Linked DNA regions of Homo sapiens: regions 2, 3 and 4 are each linked to region 1. The links are contacts of gene promoters, found by promoter capture Hi-C in human tissues and cell types (Jung and others, 2019). All regions are on one chromosome and are shown on one strand. The core of a region is centred on a gene start or on the middle of the fragment in contact, and the rest is flanking DNA. Distances in the headings are between cores, read along the strand shown. Region 1 holds the start of EIF1 (eukaryotic translation initiation factor 1). Region 2 has its middle 3.6 kb from the start of NR1D1. Region 3 overlaps WIPF2 (WAS/WASL interacting protein family member 2). Region 4 holds the start of GJD3 (gap junction protein delta 3).

The links. Contacts are between HindIII fragments. The study calls those that stand out against the background at their distance.
Region 2: a fragment that was not itself captured here is called in contact with the fragment with the promoter of EIF1 in region 1 in 1 of the 25 tissues and cell types used here (dorsolateral prefrontal cortex).
Region 3: a contact is called between a fragment that was not itself captured here and the fragment with the promoter of EIF1 in region 1, in 1 of the 25 tissues and cell types used here (dorsolateral prefrontal cortex).
Region 4: a contact is called between the fragment with the promoter of GJD3 here and the fragment with the promoter of EIF1 in region 1, in 1 of the 25 tissues and cell types used here (heart right ventricle).

The regions. Positions count from the first base shown.
Region 1 is chr17:41,687,458-41,690,383 of GRCh38, reverse strand. EIF1 (eukaryotic translation initiation factor 1) reads right to left here and starts at 1,499. Exons shown (of 4, transcript NM_005801.4): 1 at 1,315-1,499; 2 at 443-606; 3 at 195-296. The coding sequence starts at 1,345. RefSeq lists enhancers at 1-889, 815-904, 890-1,798 and a silencer at 1,285-1,674. The HindIII fragment of the contact is 6,244 bases long and covers 1-2,926 here.
Region 2 is chr17:40,102,772-40,105,697 of GRCh38, reverse strand. No RefSeq gene overlaps it. Among named protein-coding and RNA genes, the nearest start is that of NR1D1, 3.6 kb to the right of the region's middle. RefSeq lists an enhancer at 1,857-2,736. The HindIII fragment of the contact is 5,880 bases long and covers 1-2,926 here.
Region 3 is chr17:40,264,822-40,267,747 of GRCh38, reverse strand. It overlaps WIPF2 (WAS/WASL interacting protein family member 2), which reads right to left. Exons shown (of 8, transcript NM_133264.5): 5 at 2,602-2,926. Among named protein-coding and RNA genes, the nearest start is that of CDC6, 22 kb to the left of the region's middle. The HindIII fragment of the contact is 4,401 bases long and covers 1-2,926 here.
Region 4 is chr17:40,363,171-40,366,096 of GRCh38, reverse strand. GJD3 (gap junction protein delta 3) reads left to right here and starts at 1,360. Exons shown (of 1, transcript NM_152219.4): 1 at 1,360-2,926. The coding sequence starts at 2,282. GJD3-AS1 (GJD3 antisense RNA 1) reads right to left here. Exons shown (of 1, transcript NR_186704.1): 1 at 662-2,926. RefSeq lists a silencer at 2,909-2,926. The HindIII fragment of the contact is 8,775 bases long and covers 1,121-2,926 here.

The DNA of each region.
Region 1 (2,926 bases), core at 250-2,749:
AAACAGTAAACCAAAGGTAGACAAGTCCCTTCTGCTTTTTCCTATAAAACAGAAATAAGTCTATGTACTTTAAAACCCAACTGAGGTTTTGCTCAGCCTTACAAAGCCAACTTTTATGTCCCCAGCAGAAGCTAACAGACAGGATCTGAGATTTGCCAGCAGAGAGGCACAAATCAAGTAGTGACTGAACTCACCTCTACGAGGAACTGGCATATGTTCTTGCGTTGGTCACCCTGTAGCTGAATTACTTCTCCATATTCCGGATGCTCAATTACAGTACCATTGCAGGCAAACTTCTGCAAGCACAAAGGAAAACGAATTAGGCCTAGCAAGAGCATGAACGCATTTATCACCCCTTCCGCTAACAATACATACAACACAGCTGGCACCCCCTTGTGGACAAATCCATTATGACTTTCCCAAAATCTCACTGAAGACCTACTTTCTTAAACGCCTTCACTAGTTTCTTTTTATCGTAATCATCAGCGATCCCTTGGACAGTAGTAAGGGTCTTCCTGCCGTTTCTCTGTTGAATTCTTATATGGATATAATCCTCAGTGCCAGCAGGAAGCAGGTCATCACCCTTACTTGCATCAGCAAAGGGGTCTGAAAAAAAAGGTTAAGCTCGTTCAGAGCTGTCAAAGATAGGATGCCACTGCCATCCCCTCGGTCCCCAGGTGTTTTGCGCGTGCAGAAAACAACACTGAAATCGTCAGGGCTTGGGCCAGGCCGAATGTGTCCTTTGCTGGCTCTCCCCGAGCAGGTCAGTCCGGGACGGCCAGCTTCCCCAGGCTCGGGGAACGCCCGGGCCTCCCGCCCTCCCTGGGAAGCCGATCACATGTCGGGGGAGTCCGGGCTGCCAGGCGGTGCCCCACCCAGCTGATGCAACCCGCCGGAACCCGAGCTCCCGAGGCGGGGCTAAGCCTCCCACCCCCATTGGTGCACCCGCTTGCCACTTAGGGCTGGCACCGCCTTTCCCTCCGGATCCGTGACAACGGGTGGTGACGTAACGGACGTGACGCAATGGTGACGGGAGGGGCGGGTGTGGCCCGAGGAGGCCCAGGAGCCATTAGTAAATGCGCCACTGAGACGCCGGGCCCGCCCAAGGGCTGACCTACCGCCTGCTCCTTCCGGTCGCGCTCAGGGTCCGACCCCGGGGCCCAGGCCTTGATCCCGCTGCCCTGCGACCCTGGTCAAGTTTCCCCTGCCCGAGCTTACGAAGGCCCGGAGCGCTTGGCAACTTCCCGGAACACGTCTCCGGGCCCGGAAGGCCCCGCTGCCCCACCCGGGCCCGCGACCTTTCCCATAGCTTACCGAAAGAGTGGAGGTTCTGGATAGCGGACATACGATACGATTCCTTTTCCTCGGTGGAAACGGCCTGCGGAAGGCGGCGGCGGCGGTGGCGGGAGAAGGCGGGCAGGGGGGAACGGAACGTCGGGAAGCGAGGGGGCTCAAGGGGGAGGCTGCTGAATCCTCGGCGGCGGCTCAGTGACTGGGGCAGAGGGGCGGTGCCTGTGTTTAGTTATATAGCCGCGCCTCTGACGCCAGCGCGCTGCCCTCACGTCCTGACCCCACCCACAGCGTCGTGCCCCAAGCGCCCAGGCGGCGCCGCTTCCAATTGGTTTGGAGGCGGGGACATGGGATGGCGCTTGCGCAGGAAGTCTGCGGCAGGAGGGCGTCCTCTTGACTCTAGGAGAGCTGGGAGGGGGAGGGAAAGCTTGATCTGTCTCGGAGCCTGCGCAGTGCGAGTGGACGGTGTCTGGGTGCCGAGAATACCGGCCCAGGTTTCGAGCGCGCCTACGCACTGTGTCCTTTGGTACGTTCCACCTTCTTGACCCTGTTGCATCCCTGTCTTCTCGAAAAGGGGAGTTTCATATGGTAAATGAACACTCCTTAGAGAGGATTTAGATGATGAGCCTCCCAAACACGAGAAATCCCCGTTGTGTCAAACCCACCTACCTACCCACCCTACTACCCACGGAGTCACAGCGGGATTTAGGGCGGCACTTTGATTAATCAACATACAATAATATAATCAAAACGGTAACCGCATAATTTAGATTGCCATTTAGATTTATTCTAAAGTGGGTTAATCCGATCTAAAATTTTCATTTAGATTAGATTAATCCATCTAAGGAAAAAGTGTGCCCAGCTCATTGGCATGAGTTCAAGGTATAGTAACTGGTTCTGGGCCCCCCCGAGAATAATTCTGGCACCAGAGGGCGTCCTTCATGTGGCACAGCTTGTGTGGAGTAGAGCCTTCCTAGAGTTTAGATGAAATATTTCCTTCAAAACAGTCAACCTTTCTTGCTTTCAGTTTATTTATTTCAACACTCAGTTGTAGGGGTAAGTAGAGTGGTGAAAAGAGACCAGGAATTTTAGACTCAAAGGCCTCCGGGGATAGGCAGGTAAGTAGGATCAAGGAGTGCAAACAGCCAAGTGTGATGTAATGGGGTGGACTGGGGGCTGGAGTAAGAACTACGGGCTGCAGTGGCCGCTCACCTCCAGCCCATTGTGCTAGATCTTTTTCAAGAGTGCCAGGAAATCCAGGTGTTTACATAAAATCTCTTGATTTTTAAATATTGCCAATAAATTGATTTTTTTTTTGAGACAGAGTCTCACTTTGTCGCCGAGGCTGGAGTGCAGTGGCACTGTGTCGGCTCACTGTAACCTCCGTCTCCTGGGTTCAAGCAATTCTTCTGCCTCAGCCTCCCGAGTAGTTGGGGTTACAGGCATCCACCACCACGCCCGGCTAGTTTTTTAAAAATATTTTTAGTAGAGATGGGTTTTCACCATGTTGGCCAGGCTGGTCTTGAACTCCTGACCTCAGGTGATCTGCCTGCCTCGGCCTTCCAAAGTGCTGGGATTACAGGAATAAATTGAATTTTTGATACAACACTGCAAGCCAAACAAAAATATGCATGCC
Region 2 (2,926 bases), core at 240-2,739, 1.6 Mb after region 1:
GACGCTGACAGTGGTAGTTCAAGAGATAGCTAGAGGGGAGATTTAGCCCCTCCAATAATCTCCATCCGCGCTATCATTCTTTGATGGACATCTTCTCAGTCTTAAGTGCTATGCAAATTACAGCTTCAAGACTAATCACCTAGACCCTCTGGCACCCTGGGCAAGTTAATAAAGTTCTCTAAGTCTCAGTTTCCCCATCTCTAAAATAAGAATGAGACCTACAGCATAGGGTTGTTGTGAATATTAAATGAGATAATGTGTACAAAACACTTTGCACAGTGCCTGGCATACGGTTGGTACTTAATACATATTTATGGTTTCCTTTCCTTGGAAAAAGCAGTAGTGAGGTAAAGATAGAATCTGAGGCAAAACACATCCATGGAACCCAGCCCTGGCTCATGCCTCGCCCTTGCTTTCTCCATCCCCCTCCCCCCACCACACTGAGAAACAAGTTAGCTCAGACTCTGTCCTTCCTGTGGCATGTTCTTAAAGTTCTCCCCAAAACATCCAGGCTTTGGGTGGGGTTGGGAAAGATAGCTGGCCTTTTAGAGACAAAGAAAAGGATTTAGGAGGGCAGGGAGTGAGTCTCTCCCAGGCACATGGCTGGTTCCCTGATTCAGGGGCATCCCCAGCATTTCTATACCAGGTTTGCATCACCTGGGCAGACAGGTTTCTACTCTGGGCAATGGTTTCTTGGTGAGAAAGGAGGGGGATGGGAAGGCATCTACAGAAGCCTGACCTGTTTCCAGCAAGGACCCACCCTCAGTCAGTCAGTCAGTCAGTCAGTCAGTCAGTCAAGCAGTTGGCCCAAGATTTAGGCCACCCAGAATTTGCACAGGGTGTTGCCCTGTTACCCAGAACAACCTACTGACAGGGAGAACAGATCTCAGATCAAACATGCACACCCACACACACAGCATTCACACTCACACACAAACATGCAGTCTCACTCATAGTCATAGAATCACACACACACACACACACACGTGCACACATACATAACTGACCAGAGCTTAGTGTTCTCAATACCTTTCCTTCTTCTCCTCTGTGTCTGCTGTCCTCTGCAGTCCAAATAAATCAAGGAAAATTAAAGACATATTTGGAAACACACAGGCAGGATCCAACACTGCCCCTAATGGGAAGGTTCGTCCCCAGAATCCCAGACTTGGGAATCCAAGTGGAAGTGTATGCAGAACCAGGGCAGTGCCTTGCTGTACCAGGTTGTGAATATGCATCTTTTCTACCTGGATCCAATCTGAGTACTATTTATGAAGAGTTAAGTGCTTTCTTGAGTTGAACTGGGCTATGGGAGAAATGGGGTGTGTGTGTGTGTGTGTAGAAGTGAACAGCAGGCCGGGCATGGTGGCTCACGCCTGCTATCCCAGCACTTTGGGAGGCTGAGGTGGGTGGATCACCTTAGGTCAGGAGTTCAAGACCAGCCTGACTAATATGGTGAAACCCCATCTCTACTAAAAATATAAAAAAAATTAGCCAGGCATTGTGGCGTGCTCCTGCAGTCCCAGCAACTTGGGACGCTGAGACAGGAGAATGGCTTAAACCCGGAAGGTGGAGGTTGCAGTGAGCCACTGCACTCCAGCCTGGGCGATAGAGTGGGACTCTGTCTCAAAAAAAAAAAGAAGTGAACAGCAATGTCCAGCTGGAGGGATAGGTGAGGAAGGTTGTGTTGAGATACACCTGTTGTCTTAAGGTCTTACAGCCAAGGTTGAGGTCAAAGAGAAACCAAGATTCTACTCCGAATCACCCAGAGCCAGACAACCCAGCCTTTCCCCCCTCCCTTTGGTGGCTTTGGGTCTCAGAGTTTCTGCCCTTCTCCCAGCAGCTGCTGACAGAGAAAGGAGCAGGGTACACAGACTGACTAGAAGCTTCTGGGGCCAAGAGAGAACCCTGCCTTTTCATTCTGTACTCCTCTCACCAGCTGTAGAAGAAAGACACCCGAATTACTTGTGAGGGAGAAAAGGAAGGGCCCTATAAGAAATGGAAAGGAAGGAAGGAAGGAGCAAGGGGGTAACCCCTCTCCTTTGCCCCCTCCCTCCCAGCCTCTGCCTTCACACCACACACAGACTGCAGAACCACCCAGGTTTTGCCAAGAGGAGAGTCAGGCTGACTGAATTTCAGCTCTCTCTACCTCTGCTCCCTCCTCCTTCTCACTGATTGCAGCAGGCGAGGAGTCTTGACCCACCCCAGCTCCCACTCCTAGAAGAACAAACATCCAGCAAGTATACAGGGGGTGGGTAGGACCTCCACAGCAGCAAACAGAGCTGTGGGCCTTGGGGAGGACCCCGGCCAAGTAAAGGGAGGGTGCTAGTGGTGGTGCTGTGCTGTGGGGAGCTAGATGCACGCCAGGGGTCCTGATTTTGAGTCCAGCCCTGACAGACACCTGGGCTCTGGCCCTGGCTCTGACTTGGAGTCAAGGTCACAGAGAGCAGGCAAGGGCAGGACAGGGCAATTCACCTCCTAGCTTTCCCTCCAGAGCCCAGAGGGTGGAGGGAGAGGGGGTGGAGGCTGAGAACCAAGTTTTCCTGAAAAGCCTCTTTCCTTGTTTGTTTTAGCCCCTCCCAGTTGCTCCCACACTCTGCTGCAGCTTCCCAACTCTGGGCCAAAGGGCCAGAGAAGAGCCCACTGCCCTCTCTCTCCCACTTTTCTTGGGAGCAGGAGAACAAAGCTAAAGCCTAGCCCATTCCAGGAAGCTCATCTTCTACAAGGAGTCAGAGGGTGAGTGGTCAAGCTCCTGCAGTCAACCTCACTGTCCTCACTACCCAGTTTACTCCTGTGCTCATATTATTATTCTTTTTTTTTTTTTCTTTTTTTGAGATGGAGTTTCGGTCTTGTTGCCCATGCTGGAGTGCACTGGCGCGATCTCAGGTCACTGCAACCTCTGCCTCCCGGGTTCAAGCAATTCTCCTGC
Region 3 (2,926 bases), core at 231-2,730, 1.4 Mb after region 1:
GCCAACACGGCGAAAACCCGTTTCTACTAAAAATACAAAAATTAGCCAGATATGGTGGCACATGCCTGTAATTCCAGCTAGTCAGGAGGCTGAGACACAACAATCACTTGAACCTGGGAGGAAGAGGTTGCAATGAGCAGAGATTGCACCACTGCACTCCAGCCTGGGCGAAAGAGCAAGGCTCTGTCTCAAAACACAAACAAACAAATAAATAAATAAAGGCCAAGAAGCTGTTTGTGGAGGGTATGTCTCAAAGTCTAATGATACAACGATATGGGAGCCAAAATTCCCATGTCCAATAAGGCCCCAGAGAGCTGTCACGGTCTCCCTCACTCTAAAATTTCAGTTATGCTAATTATAACGAGATTACACAACCTCTTCTTTTTCCAGGGTTCCTAAATTCCCTCCTCACCCAGCTTAGGCTCCATTATTGCAATCACTCCCTCACATACACCCTTCCCTTCCTGCCCCACTCTCCCTTAGAGTCGCACATGCCTAAAACATGCTAACGCTGGTTAAACACAGCTCTACTCTTTTTCTGTACCTGCAAATCACAACTGAACACATGAGACTAATTAATCTCACATGAAATGTATGGCCCATAATCTCAAGTGGGCCCTTCGCGTGGTTGCCTATCTGAGCACACTTCCCTAGTCCACCCACACTCCCACGCTCCAGATGACCATTTCATGCCTCTTCTCTCTCCTCAACTCTCCTTCTCCTTCCCTCGCCTCAATCACAGCTGATGCTCTTGCTTTCCATTTCACTGAGAAAACAGAAGCAAATTAGAATAAACTTTCCACATGCTTCTACCACTACACCCACCTACCCACTTGCTTCTAAGCCTATATGCTCTGCCTCCCCTCTTGTTACTATGGAAGAACTATGTTCCTATCTAAGGCCAACCCTTTTTATCTATCGATCACATTCTCTTTTCTCTGGCCTCCTCCAGGTCATTATTCAGGCAATCTGTTCCCTCTCTTCTGATTCAATTTTTTCCCTCTCTCCTAAGTTTCATGCTACTCATTCCATCAGCATACAAATAGGTCTCCCATCTTGGGATGGGAAAAAAACAACTCTCAACCCCACATCTTCGTCCAACAATCACTTCACTTATCTTCACCCCTCTCTCCTGGACTTTACAGCGAACTCTTTAAGAGATTTCTATATTGCTATCTCCAATTTCTCTCCTCCTATTCCTGCATTCTTGAACCCACTCCAATTAAGCTTTCACTTTCACCCTCCACCACTCCACTGAAACTACTCAAAAGGGTCCCATGATACTAAGACCAATGCCAGTTCTTGGTCTTTAACTTACCTGACCCATCTGCAGCACTGGGCACAGCTGACCACTTACTCTACCTTGGAGTTTTTCCATCACATTCTTGGTTTTTCTCCTTCCATCCTCACTAGAAGCTTTTCTGTTTCCTCTGCTGGGTATTCTTCATCTCTTTTGCCTCTAATGTAGGAGGGCGAGGGCTCAGCCCTCATTTTTTTTTTTTTTTTTTTTGAGATGGACTGTCACTCTGTCGCCCAGGCTGGAGTGCAGTGGCGTGATCTCGGCTCACTGCAACCTCTGCCTCCTGAGTTCAAGCGATTCTCCTGCCTCAGCCTCCTAGGCCTCTTCTTATCTATATTCACTCCTTAGGTGACTTCATCCAGCATGTGGTTTTCAACACCATTCAAATGTATCTCTCTAGCCGAAACCTCTCCCCTCAACTTTGGAGTCTGATAGCCAATTACCAATTCATTGTCTCTTCTTGATTACCTAACAGGCATCTCAAACTTGTCTCAAACTGAACACCTATCTTCCCACAAATTCACAGTAGTCCTAACCATCTGGCCGTTTACTGCAACAGCCCAGTAACTGGTCTCCTTTTGTCACCTTTGTCCTCCTGCGGTCTGTTCTCAACATAGGAGTTAATGATCTTTTTAAAAGGTGAATCAAATCATACTACTTCTCTGTTTAAAACCCTCCAGTGGCTTCCCATCTCACACAGTTAAATCCAAGGTCTTTGCAAAATCCTGCAGTGCGCTCTCCCCTGCAGCTCCAGCTTTCCAACCTCCAAGTCCTACCACTCTTCCCTCCCCTCACTCTTTGTAGTCTTGCCACAATGGCCCCCTTGCTGTCCCCAAAATGTTTCAAGAATACTTCTGCCTTATGGCCTCTGCATTTGTTGTTCCCACTGCCTGCAACAGCTGTTCTCCTAGATAACTACTAAGCTTACTCGTCACTTTCTTAAGGTCTTTGTCAAATTTTCACCGTATCAGTAAGGACTGTCCTGACTCTCTCCCCACTCCTCCAATTAAAGATATCATCATCCCGACCTCCGCCCCAGTATATCTTATTCCTCTCCTCTGCTTTGTAATTCTCTAAAGCATACTGCATACTATGTATTTATATATTTTACTAGTTTGACTGTCAAATTTTTTTGTCTTTTCTATTTATTGCTATTTCCCTACCAACAGACCTGACACATAAAAAGGTACTCAATAAACCCACTGAGTGAATAAACGAATTACTGTCTTCAAGGAGTGCTCTGGGGAAAGATAAAATCAACTCACAGCATGATAGGGAAAAAGGTGCTTCCAAGCACTTACCTGCTCCCCGACTGGGAGGGTCTCGGGCTGGGGGAGGTGGCCTATTACTCAGTAAAGATGGGGAGGCCGAGGTGGGTGGAGGAGGTGCTAGGCCTCTGACAGGCCCTGGTGTCTTCCTATGCAAAGAATTGTGTCTCTGTGGCAGCTCAGGGGCTGACTCATTAGTGGGGCTAGAGGGTCCATTGGGGACCCCAGGAGGCTGGCGGTAAGGCGGAGGAGGAGGAGCCAGAGACTGGCCACTTGGTCCTGTTCTGATATTCACAGGGGAAGGAGGTGGTTTGACTGGGGGTGGAGCAGGAGGTCCCTCTCGACCAGGGTGAAGCCT
Region 4 (2,926 bases), core at 111-2,610, 1.3 Mb after region 1:
AGCACTTTGGGAGGCCGAGGCAGGTGGATCACCTGAGGTCAGGATTTCGAGACCAGCCTGACCAACATGGAGAGATCCTGTCTCTATTAAAAATACAAAATTAGCTGGGCATGGTGGCACATGCCTGTAATCCCAGCTATTCAGGAGGCTGAGGCAGGAGAATCGCTTGAACCCGGGAGGAGGAGGTTGCGGTGAGCTGAGATCACACCACTGCACTCCAGCCTGGGCAACAAGAGCAAAACTCTGTCTCAATAAATAAATAAATAAATAAATAATAAAATAACATGTTAGGCCGGGTGTGGTAGCTCACGCCTGTAATCCCGGCACTTTGGGAGGCTGAGATAGGCGGATTGTTTGAGGTCAAGAGTTCGAGATCAGCCTGGTCAACATGGCGAAACCCCACCTCTACTAAAAATACAAAAATTAGCCGGGCGTGGTGGCGCACACCTGTAATCCCAGCTACTGGGGAGGCTGAGGCAGGAGAATCGCTTGAACCCGGGAGGCGGAGGTTGCATTCAGCCAAGATCATGCCACTGCACTCCAGCCTGGGCGACAGAGCTAGACTCCATCTCAAAACAAACAAATTAAAAATAAATAAATAAATAACATGTTCATTATAGTAAAGCTGGAAATAACAGAAAAGTGGGAAGGAAACCAAAGATTTTATTTAACTATCAAAGCCAGGCACTTGGGATATTTTAATGGTTTTCCATATGGGATTTTTTTTTTTTTTTTTTTTTTTGCAGGCACAAGGGTTTTTTTGGTTCTCTGTAATATGGTTGGGAATTCAATATTAAGAAGTAGAGAATCCCAGCTACTCAGGAGGCTAAGGTGTGAGGATCACTTGAAGCCAGGAGTTCAAGATCGACCTGGGCTATGTAGAGAGACCCCGTTCCAAAAAAGATGTAAAGCTGGAAGGAAACTTGGGGGTCAGCTGGACTGGCCGCCTTTGTTGACAAGGCAGGAAAGCCTGGCTCAGTACCGCCGAATGATTTGTCCAAGGTGAGCGGTGGCAGAGCTGGAACCAGAAGCTGTTAGATGTTTGCTGCCCCTTAAACTCCAGCACCAAACCTCCCTCTGTCCCCGAAGACCATCTTCACAGGGCATGGTTAGTGCGTAGTGGATCTAGGCTCCAGACTGAGGGTCTGTCTGGGAAGGGCTTCTAGGAATCCCCCAGCTTCCTCGATAAAGGATGTGGCTCTGGTTACCCCCCTCCCCCATTTCCAGATGGAAATTTAGCTAAAGAGTGAGGGCCACAGAGCCCAGCAAGGGGCGTGGTCCGTGCCTGTTCCCAAGGGCGGAGCCAGCCAGCAGGGTCACCCTGTTCCTTTAAGAGAAGGGGGAGCGCTAGCCCCTCTCAGCCATCCTGTCCTGTCCTCCATCCTGGCCAAATCCGAAAGGGAAAATGAAAGAGGGAGCAGGAGGCGCCGGTCCCAGCCACCTCCCAAGGTCCCTGGCTCAGCTCTGACACCCCAGTCCCGGCCCCAGGGTGAGTGGGGTTGGGTGGCGGTTTAGGGGCACCAGGGGCGTGTGGGGACCTGTGTAAGTGTGGGGTGGGGAGGATCTCAGGAGATGTGGAGGCTGGAGGCACAGGAGGCCAGGGAGGAGGGAGAAGCCTGGCGTCGCACTCCCACCACGCTGGGGTAGGAGGGCAGGGACACCTCCGACAAAGGACCCTGTGAGAGTTATGAAAGCGGAGTTGCCTCTGTACCAGCCCCCCACCCTGAGAGGAGTTCACTGCAGTAAAAATGGTGAGAGAAATGGTGGGCCAAGAAAGGAGTGGTCTCGCTGCCTCTGCCACTCCCACTCCTCCCATGGGCACCAAATTGGGTCTAGCGTCTCGGGTTCGAGGCTCCACTCTTCCCACAGCATCCTTGACAGCTAAGGGCACCGCTGGGTTTCCGCTTCCGAAACCAGGCAAGTCAGGGGCTGGTCCAGCTGATCTCCAAGGTCCTTCCTAAGAATCTGGGATCTGGAGGATCCCAGGGTCGAACGGAGACGGCTCAGGGGGTGCGGCTAAAATGCAAATGGGGGATCCTCCCCAGCACCCATCGGTCCCAAAGAGAAGGTAACCCATAGCTGAGCGTCGCCTGCTCCCCTCGGGCCCTCCCGTGGCCCTCCGTTTCATACTGGTCTCATCGCTAAACCCGGGCCTCTCCTACCTCACGACTCACCCTGAAGTCAGAGAAGGTCCAACGGACCCCACCCCGATAGGCTTGGAAGGGGCAGGGGTCCCTGACTTGCCCCATCCCCTGACTCCCCGCCCCGCGTCCCCAGCGCCATGGGGGAGTGGGCGTTCCTGGGCTCGCTGCTGGACGCCGTGCAGCTGCAGTCGCCGCTCGTGGGCCGCCTCTGGCTGGTGGTCATGCTGATCTTCCGCATCCTGGTGCTGGCCACGGTGGGCGGCGCCGTGTTCGAGGACGAGCAAGAGGAGTTCGTGTGCAACACGCTGCAGCCGGGCTGTCGCCAGACCTGCTACGACCGCGCCTTCCCGGTCTCCCACTACCGCTTCTGGCTCTTCCACATCCTGCTGCTCTCGGCGCCCCCGGTGCTGTTCGTCGTCTACTCCATGCACCGGGCAGGCAAGGAGGCGGGCGGCGCTGAGGCGGCGGCGCAGTGCGCCCCCGGACTGCCCGAGGCCCAGTGCGCGCCGTGCGCCCTGCGCGCCCGCCGCGCGCGCCGCTGCTACCTGCTGAGCGTGGCGCTGCGCCTGCTGGCCGAGCTGACCTTCCTGGGCGGCCAGGCGCTGCTCTACGGCTTCCGCGTGGCCCCGCACTTCGCGTGCGCCGGTCCGCCCTGCCCGCACACGGTCGACTGCTTCGTGAGCCGGCCCACCGAGAAGACCGTCTTCGTGCTCTTCTATTTCGCGGTGGGGCTGCTGTCGGCGCTGCTCAGCGTAGCCGAGCTGGGCCACCTGCTCTGGAAG